2 separate regions of the Homo sapiens genome follow, and region 2 is linked to region 1. The links are contacts of gene promoters, found by promoter capture Hi-C in human tissues and cell types (Jung and others, 2019). All regions are on one chromosome and are shown on one strand. Each heading gives the region's core, a stretch centred on a gene start or on the middle of the fragment in contact. The rest is flanking DNA. Distances are from core to core; before and after follow the strand shown.

Region 1 (4,490 bases), core at 1,440-3,939:
AGGTCATGGGCAATTTAAAAAAATAGCTTTATTGAGGTATACTTTGACATGCCATAAAATTCACCCATTGTATGTGTACAATTCAATTACTTCATTTATACAACTGTTCAATTATCACCATATTCCAGCTTAATGGTCAATATTTGCTTTGTCATTTGATCTTTTCTCTATGGTAAGCAAAAATCTATTATTTGAAAGGTTCCTTCACTGAAAGCTGGGTGGAGTTGAACTCTAAAATTACCTACAAAATTACTTTCTATCTAGTCATCTATGTCTAATTCTTCAATTTGACACATGCATGTTACTAGCACAAGCTGCATTTTAAAGGCAGCAGGAAGGTCTTTTACTATCATTAGAAGTTAACTTTAAGGATTGAGCAGGCACGATACAGCATAGATTGTTTCGTGTGCTATATAGTAAGGTCAATATTCTTGCTCCTTCTACAAATAAAAAAAAGTTCCACAGAATAACAAGTACAGGTGGAGTTCCCAACGGAAATGCAGGTACTGAATACAACCAACTGCAACTGTTTCTCTGCTCCTCAATCCTGCTGGCGTAGTACGCGAGCTGCCGACGTCCCCCAACCCACCAGGTAAGCCGGCCGCTCCTGTCCCTAGGCTGTGAGGGGTTCAGAGGTAAGACCTTCGGTGTATTCACTTAGCTCCCTACGGAAAACTTCGAGAAGAAGGCGACTGAGATCGGTTAGCACTTAAATCCCTTTCAAAGCCCCGGCTCCCATCGCCCCTCCTATGGCCTCCTACCTGCAGAGAAGCAAAGCAGGTACACCCAGTGCCTTAGGCGGGCCAAGCCTAGCACTGTGGGAGCAAAAAACATGGCTTCATCGTCAGGGTGCGCTATGACCAGCAGGGTCCGGCTTTCGGCTCCCAGCCGTCCTCCCTGCTCCCGACTCTTCATTCGTTCTGAGGAGTCCCAAACCCAGAGGAAGCCCCATGCCAAGACCGCCAACGCCACACACAGGAGCCACATTGCTTCCATGATGGGTAAGCAGCACTGAGCCTGCGCAGTAGGAAAGGCTGCCTCTGACCCTGACTCCGGCTGGAAAACTTCACCGGGGAATGTTGGGTTCCGCTGTTAAGTCCCTCCCGCCGACATGCTCCGGAAGCTTGAGGTTTTAACGTTAAGGGTTCTCTTGTGTTTTAACACAGAAGTCTCCATGCCGTCCAGTTTCCTACCCTAGTCCTACCACACTGTACAATCGGTTTAAAAGGAAGCGTCTTATATATAAGCTCCCACTTATAGGAAGAGTTCCTTCCTCTTCATTTTCGAATTCATTTCTTAAAACTCGGGCCTTTCTCGTAATTATAGGGTTAGACAGCCCGTTATCCGTATGACAGTTTTCCAAAATAGCCAGTTACACCAACTTTGTTATTCCTTCTCACTTTTGGATGGCTTTCTTTACCTTTTTTTTTTTTTTTGAGAGGCTCTGTCGCCCAGGCTGGAGTGCAGTGGAGCGATCTCGGCTCACTGCAACCTCTGTCTCCCGGGTTCAAGCGACTCTTCTGCCTCAGCCTCCCGAGTAGCTGGGACTATAGGCGCGCGCCACCACGCCCAGCTAATTTTTGTATTTTTAGTAGAGAGGGGGTTTCACCATGTTAACTAGGCTGGTCTCGAACTCCTGACTTCGTGATCCGCTCGCCTCGGCCTCCCAAAGTGCTGGGATTACAGGCCTGAGCCACCGCGCCCGGCCCTTTCTTTTTTTTTTTTGAAACGGTCTGGCTCCGTCGCCCAGGCTGGAGTGCAGTGGCGCGACCTAGGTTCGCTGCTACCTCAGCCTCCCGCGTTCAAGCAATTCTCCCACTTCGGTCTCCCCAGTAGCTGGGATTACTGGCGCGCGCCACCACGCCCGCTTAATTTTTGTATTTTTAGTAGTGACGGGGTTTCTCCATGTTCGTCAGGCTGGTCTCGAACTCCTGACCTTAAGTGATGGCCCGCCTCGGCCTCCCTAAGTGCTGGGATTACAAGCGTGACCCACTGCGTCCGGTCGGGCCTGGCTTTTCTAAAGGAACGTATGCGTGCGGTTACGAGGAACCGTCGTTTCCCCAGCAGGGTGAGGCTGAGCGTGCACTTAACAGTCGCGAGGGCCACAGGCTCCTCTTGCAAGTAACTTAAGGTTAAGGAGCAACATCGTGGACAAATCGGCCTCGCCCAGCATTTCAGTGAGGGCTTGGTGCGAATTCCAGCCAGAGCCCTAGAAAGTATCTTGGGCAGGTCGAAATGCACCCCTCCAGCTCCCAGCCACGAGGGGACCGGCTTCCCTGTACGCAGCTCCGGCCAGAGGAGGCCGCCGCCGCCCCACCACGCCGCGGAGGGGTTTGCAGGGTCCCTTCCACGGCCTGGAGTTTTTCCTTTTCCCACGCCTGAGGAAGGCCTCGGGCGCGCGGAACAGACGGGCAGGCGGGGGGCGCACAAGCCCAGGGCACGATGGCAGCAGCGCTGGATCCGGCTGGGCGCTGCTCGGCCCCGTATCCGTCCGAGAGGACCGCCGCTGCCAGGCCTAGAGGAGACATGAAGAGACCGGGCGCAGCGCGACCCGGGAAGCTCCGCCGAGGTAGGAGAGGCGCCCGGCCAGCGGAGGGAGTTGGTCTCCCAACTCTCCGGAAGGAGGAGGAGCCGGCGCTGGAGCCGCCTTAGCCGCGGCTCCGCGGGCTGGGGGGAGGGAGAGGGGTTGAGTCAAGATGGCGGCCAAGGTGGCGAAGCAGCAGCCGCGGCGGCGGCGGCGGCTGGAGTGAGCGTCCGACTCGCCGCGCCGAACGAGGTCCCGGTGTAGGGCCGCGCGCCGTGGCCGCGTCCCACTCCTCAGGCCGGGGCGCACGTCGGCTCCCACGCTTAGCCAGCTCCCGGTGAGTAGGCCCTGGCGCCTGCAACCCCGGCCTCCGGGCTCCTGCTAGTCCGGGGGCTTCCGAGGGCTCCCGGGGCAGCAGCCGCTGGGACGGTTTCTCCGCCGGGCGGGGGGTGTCGCAGGCCTGGGCAGGTCGGGACCCGTCCTGGCCGCCTGGCCTCTTCCACTCGGCAGCCCAGGAGAGAGCCGGGCGCGGCGGGGAGCTCGGGCTGGGCTAGCGGAGGCTTATGGAGTTTGGAGGAAGAATGGGCTGTGGCCGGGCCGGGGCTGGCCCCGAGGTGTCCTGTGCGGAGGGGCGTGCGGAGCCTACAGGGCCTGCGAGGGAGAGCGGGCAGCCGGTGCCCCGGGTGGGGCCGGCGCAGGTGGCGGGCCTGGGCTCACTGAGGCGGAGTTGGTGGCCGACTTGGAAGTGTAGAAGGGGCTGCGGAGGTTGACAGCCATGGACAAGTGCGTGCAGAGTAAATTAGTTCACCTTTCTAACAGACCGCTTCAGGGTGTAATGGCGAAGGCTGGGTACTGGTGGAGATGGCAAAGATCCGAACACTATACCTTCTGCCGTTTATTGTTGGTGTTTTCTTAAGCGAAGTCCGTAAGTGCACCCCTTTTTGGGGAGAGAGGAATTTGAGAAACTGTAGTTGTGAAATCAGCCTTTATGGAGAGGAGACTGAATTCTTCAAATTAACTGGATCAGGAATAGTCATGTATTAAAGGAATGGATGGGAATAAGTGATATGGACGAAAACTATTTGCTCAGGAAGTGTCAGTTTTCTTTATGTGATGTTGCATGCTGCGGTGCCTCTTCCACAGAGTTAACCTTGGAGAGTAGTAGTATAGGTAATTCTAATCTTTGGGATTAGTATGTAAACCTGCATCAGATTTGCTTCTCTAATTATATCCTAATTATATTGAAATTTACATTCCTTGTGTGCACCCTGGTGAGGCAGTGATGGAAGGCTGAACATGGCACTGTGCAAGGAGCAACAGGCCCGGGATTTAAAAATGCCTACAAAGATTCATTCATTCGTTCAATATATCTTGATCAATAGCTGCTGATGCTGGGTCACATGTGATTGTCCTGTGGATAACTGAAGAGTTGATGGCATCGTTTAATTTTTAATAGCTTTTTAAAATGTTTTGATGTACCTTTTCATGAAGATATTTATTGGATGAACCAACTTGTACTTGCCCGGGCTCAGGAGCAGACCAATTTTAGAATGTTATTTAGACAAGGGTAACAATTACAGAAGAAGTAACCGCAAGTTACTGGAGAGAGAAATCTTGTATCTTTTTTTCTTTTTCTGTTAACATCCGGTGGAAGTTTATTTATTTGTTTTAATATTTATAGTACCCAGTTGCTTGGCCTTGCTTTAAGCACACCTGTTAATGGAAATCAAGATTAATTGTATATATGGATATAGCTATGTATAAAATGCTCACAGTAGGAACTGATTACTTACAATACTAAAATACTCTTTCCTTTTACAAAAGGCTTGCCATATGTTGAACTACTCCCCCGGAGAAAATATAATACAAAGTATCTTGATTCTTGCTCTAACTATGTGATTTTGGAACTTGATCAACCTTTCTGTGCTTCAGTTTCCTCATCTTGAATATTAGGTAAACATCTACT
Region 2 (4,490 bases), core at 1,416-3,915, 240 kb before region 1:
TGAGTGTCCTCACATCATGGCAGCTGGCTTATCCCACAACAGGTGATAATATAGAAGCCATAATGCCTTTCTTTCTTTCCTTTCTTTTCTTTCTTTCTTTCTTTTGACAGAGTCTCGCTGTATCACCTAGGCTGGAGTGCAATGGCGCAATCTCGACTCGCTGCAACCTCTGCCTCCCGGGTTTAAGCGGTTCTCCTGCCTCAGCCTCCCAAGTAGCTTGGGATTACAGGCACCTGCCACCACAACTGGCTAATGTTTTGTATTTTTAGTAGAGACGGGGTTTCACCATGTTGGCCAGCCTGGTCTCAAACTCCTGACCTCAGGTGATCCACCCACCTTGGCCTTCCAAAGTGCTGGGATTACAGGTGTGAGCCACTATGCCTGGCCTTGCTTTTTTGTTGTTGTTGTTGTTTGTATTTGTTTGTTTGTTTGTTTTGAGACAGGGTCCCACTCTGATGCCCAGGCTGGAGTGCAGAGGTGTGATCATAACTTTCTGCAGCCTGGAACTACTAGGCTCAAGTGATCCTCCCACCTCACCTTCCCAAGTAGCTGGGACTGCAGGCAGGCACCACCATGCCTAGCTAATTTTTTGTTTTTTTTTTTCTTGTAGAGACGGGGCACTCACTATGTTGCCAAGGCTGGTCTCAAACTCCTGGCCTCAAGCAATCCCCCTCCCTTGGCCTCCCAAAGCACTAGGATTGCAGGTGTGAGCCCAACCCCCACAATACCTTTTAAGACCCAGTCTCAGAAGTCACAAACCATCATTTCCACCATTCTATTGGTTCTAATGATTCTGTTGCTCACTTAGACCAGCCCTGCTACAATGTGGAAGGACATTACACAGGGGCACAGATGCCAGGAGCCGAGAGCAGCAAGGCTGTCTTGGAGGCCGGCGGCTGCACATGCCGAAGTGGGGGAATCAGAATAAACTCCCCCATCCGTCTCTCCTCCTGCCCTCTGGTCTTGCTGCCATTGCTCCCATTAGCTGAACCCAAGTGGAAGCCAGGGGGAAGAGAGCCCAGTGATGCAGTCTCTAGAGCCCAGCCTTCTGAGCAGAGAAGGGCAGAGTGGACTGTGGGGCAAGAGGAAACAGAAAAGCCGGCACACAGTCTCTGCATCTGGAATGGTGTCCAGTGTAATGAGGGGGACAGTCAACATTTGATGAATGTATGAATGAATTTATGGATGAGGGAGGGATAGCCTTGAATGGAGGGCAGTGGAGGGCTGTGCTTGTCGGGGTCCTGGAGCAGTTACAGAGGTGCCTGGGGAGTGAAGATGGCAGATGGTATCACTGCCTGATGGCTGAGAGCCAGAGCAGTGTCGGGTGCTGGTACCCCTCCCAGGTCAGCCTGCAGGTCAGCACGTCATCTTTCCTGACAGATTAATGAGAAGCCCCTCAAACACGTTCTGCCCCAGGACCTGGGCAGCCTCACTGGGAAGGTCTGGAGAGGCTGCTGCCCTGACCTGCACTCATAGTCACTTGACTGTGCCACATCCCACTCCTGCCATCTTCAGGGATCGGGGGAGGACTGCAAAGCATTGATTCAGCACACAGCCATTGAGCCTTCTGGGCGGGTTAGGATTCTGCTGCACATAACAGAAGCCCAGGCGGGCTGGCTCCAGCAAGGAAGAAAATGTGTTCTACAGATATCGAGGTGTCTTGTGGTGCCCACGGGCAGCCAAGTTAGACCAAGGTGCTAGAACTATAGATAAGCACGGTGCAGAGGTCCCTCCTTCCCTCCTCGCTGCTCTACCCTGCCTCCCTCTGTGTTCCCTCTGCACAGACTGCTCTTCCCCCTGCCGCATGGTAGGGAATGTGGCTAGCTATGGCTCCCAGGTTACTTCTCAGGGTTCCAGCCACTGGAGGAGTTAGGGTATGTGTGTCTCAGTGTCAAGTCCAGCTTCCTCCTCCTCTTCCTCTTCCTCCTCCTCTTCTTTCTCCTTCTCCTCTTCTTCCTCTTCCTCCTCCTCTTCCTTCTTCTGCTCCTCTTCCTCCTCCTCCTCTTCCTCCTTTTCCTTCTTCTCTTCCTCCTCCTCTTCCTTCTCTTCCTCCTCCTCTTCCTTCTCTTCCTCCTCCTCTTCCTTCTTCTCCTCTTCCTCCTCCTCCTCTTCCTTCTCTTCCTCCTCCTCTTCCTCCTCCTCCTCTTCCTGATCCTCTTCCTTCTTCTCCTCCTTTCTCCTCTTCTTCCTCCTCTTCCTCCTCCTCTTCCTCCTCCTTCCTCCTCTTCCTCCTCCTACCCCTCCTCTTCCTCCTCCTCTCCCTCCTCTTCCTCCTCCTCCTACTACTGCTACTCCTCCTCCTCCCCCTCCCCTTCCTCCTCCTCCTCTCCCTCTTCCTCTTCCTCCTTCTCCTCCTCTCCCTCCCCCCGTTCCCCACCTTCTTACTGCTCCACTTCTGGGCCAGTGCTGCCTAGTCCTGTTCTCTGCAGGAGGGAGCCCTGGAGGGGTTCTTTGAAAAGTGGAAGAGTTGGGAAAAAATGAGACAGTCTCACTGAAGGCTTTTCTGGTTGTAAATGATAGAAACACTTTGAACTGACCTAAGCCAAAGACAGGATTTCTCACAAGGAGGGCAGCAGATAGCGGTTAGGAGCATCAGCCTCAGAGCTGGCTGACTTTAGATCCTGACTCCGTCTTACAAGCTGGGAGGCCTTGCCCATCTATTTAAGTTCTTTTTGCCTCAGTTCCCTCATTTGTAAAGCGGGGTTATTAATAATACCTGTCTCATAGGGTTGTAGTAAGGTATGGGACTATAGTTTGTAGGGCACTTAGGGAGGTCGAGGCAGGTGGACCACTTGAGGTCAGGATTTGAGACCAGCCTGACCAACATGGTGAAACCCCGTCTCTAATAGAAATACAAAAAAAATTAGCCGGGCATGGATGGCGGGTGCCTGTAGTCCCAGCTACTCGGGAGGCTGAAGCAAGAGAACCGCTTGAATCTGGGAGATGGAGGTTGCATTGAGCTGAGATTGCGCCACTGCACTCCAGCCGGGCGACAGAGCAAGACTCCGTCTAAAAAAAAAAATTGTAGGGCAGAACTGTGTGGTACTTTTCCCTCACTCATTATAAGGGTCATGGCTGACACTCCTATAACCAGACACAGGGTAACAAAAAAGCAGAACAAATGTGTTTAATCAAAATTTTACGCAACATGGGAGCTTTCAGAAATGAAGACGCTCAGGTGAGGCACGGTGGCTCACACCTGTAATACCAGCACTTTGGGAGGCCGAGGCAGGCGGATCGTCTGAGGTCAGGAGTTCAAGACCAACCTGGCCAACATAGTGAAACCCTGTCTCTACTAAAAATACAAAAATTAGCTGGGCGTGGTGGCACGCGCCTGTAATCCCAGCTACTCGGGAGGCTAAGCCAGGAGAATCACTTGAACCTGGGAGACGGAGGTTGCAATGAGCTGAGATGGTGCCACTGTACTCCAGCCTGAGGGCGGGGACAGAGCAAGACTCCGTCACTAAAAAAAAAAAAGAAAAGAAAAGAAAAGAAAAGAAATGAGGACCCTTAGCCCCAGCTACCTGGGAGGCTGATACAGGAGGATTACATGAGTCCAGGAATTCAATACCAGCAAGGCCAATATAGTGAGACCCCCATCTCTTTAAAAAAAGAAAGAAATGAAGACCCCAAACCCCAGGGAAAGAGGTTTTTTTGTTTTTTTGGTTTTTTGTTTGTTAGAATTTGTTTATTTTAATTATATTTATTTATTTATTTTAAAACGGAATTTTGCTCTTGTTGCCCGGGCTGGAGTGCAGTGGCGTGATCTCGGCCCACCTCAACCTCTGCCTCCTGGGTTCACGCGATTCTCCTGCCTCAGCCTTCCGAGCAGCTGGGATTACAGACATGCACCACCATGCCTGGCTAATTTTGTATTTTCAGTAGAGATGGGGTTTCTCCATGTTGGTCAGGCTGGTCTCAAACTCCCAACCTCAGGTGATCCGCCCCCCTCTGCCTCCCAAAGTGCTGGGATTACAGGCATGAGCCACCACGCCTGGCCTGTTTGTTTGTTTGTTTTTTGACAGAGTCTCACTCTGTTGCCCAGGCTGGAGTGCAATGACGTGATCTCGGCTCACTGGACCCTCCACCTCCTGGGTTCAAGCAACTCTCCTGCCTCAGCCTACCAAGTAGCTGGGACTACAGGTGCCCGCCACCATGCCTAGCTAATTTTTTGTATTTTTAGTAGAGATGGAGTTTCGCCGTGTTGGCCAGGCTAGTCTCGAACTCCTGACCTCAGGTGATCCACCCACCTCGGCCTCCCAAAGTGCTGGGATTACAGGCGTGAGCCACCACACTCAGCCAGCTATCTGTTTTTATACTCAGGCTTGGTAAAGAGTGCACAAGCTTGTAGAAATGCGATTGGACAAAGGGTGTGATCTAATGGTGATAGGCCGAGGGGACCCAGGAAGGCTATCTGCTCAGATTCTTCTTGGCCTCTCTCTGCAGTGTTCCTTCCTACCCCTCTGGAATGGTCTTCAAGACAGAAGGGA

The links. Contacts are between HindIII fragments. The study calls those that stand out against the background at their distance.
Region 2: a contact is called between a fragment that was not itself captured here and the fragment with the promoter of NCOR1 in region 1, in 1 of the 25 tissues and cell types used here (adrenal gland).

What each region holds. Positions count from the first base shown.
Region 1 is chr17:16,213,733-16,218,222 of GRCh38, reverse strand. It overlaps NCOR1 (nuclear receptor corepressor 1), which reads left to right and starts at 2,689. Exons shown (of 46, transcript NM_006311.4): 1 at 2,689-2,861. It overlaps PIGL (phosphatidylinositol glycan anchor biosynthesis class L), which reads right to left and starts at 1,013. Exons shown (of 7, transcript NM_004278.4): 1 at 762-1,013. The coding sequence starts at 996. RefSeq lists enhancers at 988-1,237, 2,424-2,483, 2,061-2,976, 2,977-3,893 and a silencer at 2,754-3,223. The HindIII fragment of the contact is 13,683 bases long and covers 1-3,135 here.
Region 2 is chr17:16,453,920-16,458,409 of GRCh38, reverse strand. The region is part of intron 2 of LRRC75A (leucine rich repeat containing 75A); the gene reads left to right. All of the region lies in intron 3 of SNHG29 (small nucleolar RNA host gene 29), which reads right to left. Among named protein-coding and RNA genes, the nearest start is that of SNORD65, 15 kb to the right of the region's middle. RefSeq lists enhancers at 1,028-1,527, 1,528-2,029. The HindIII fragment of the contact is 8,128 bases long and covers 1-4,490 here.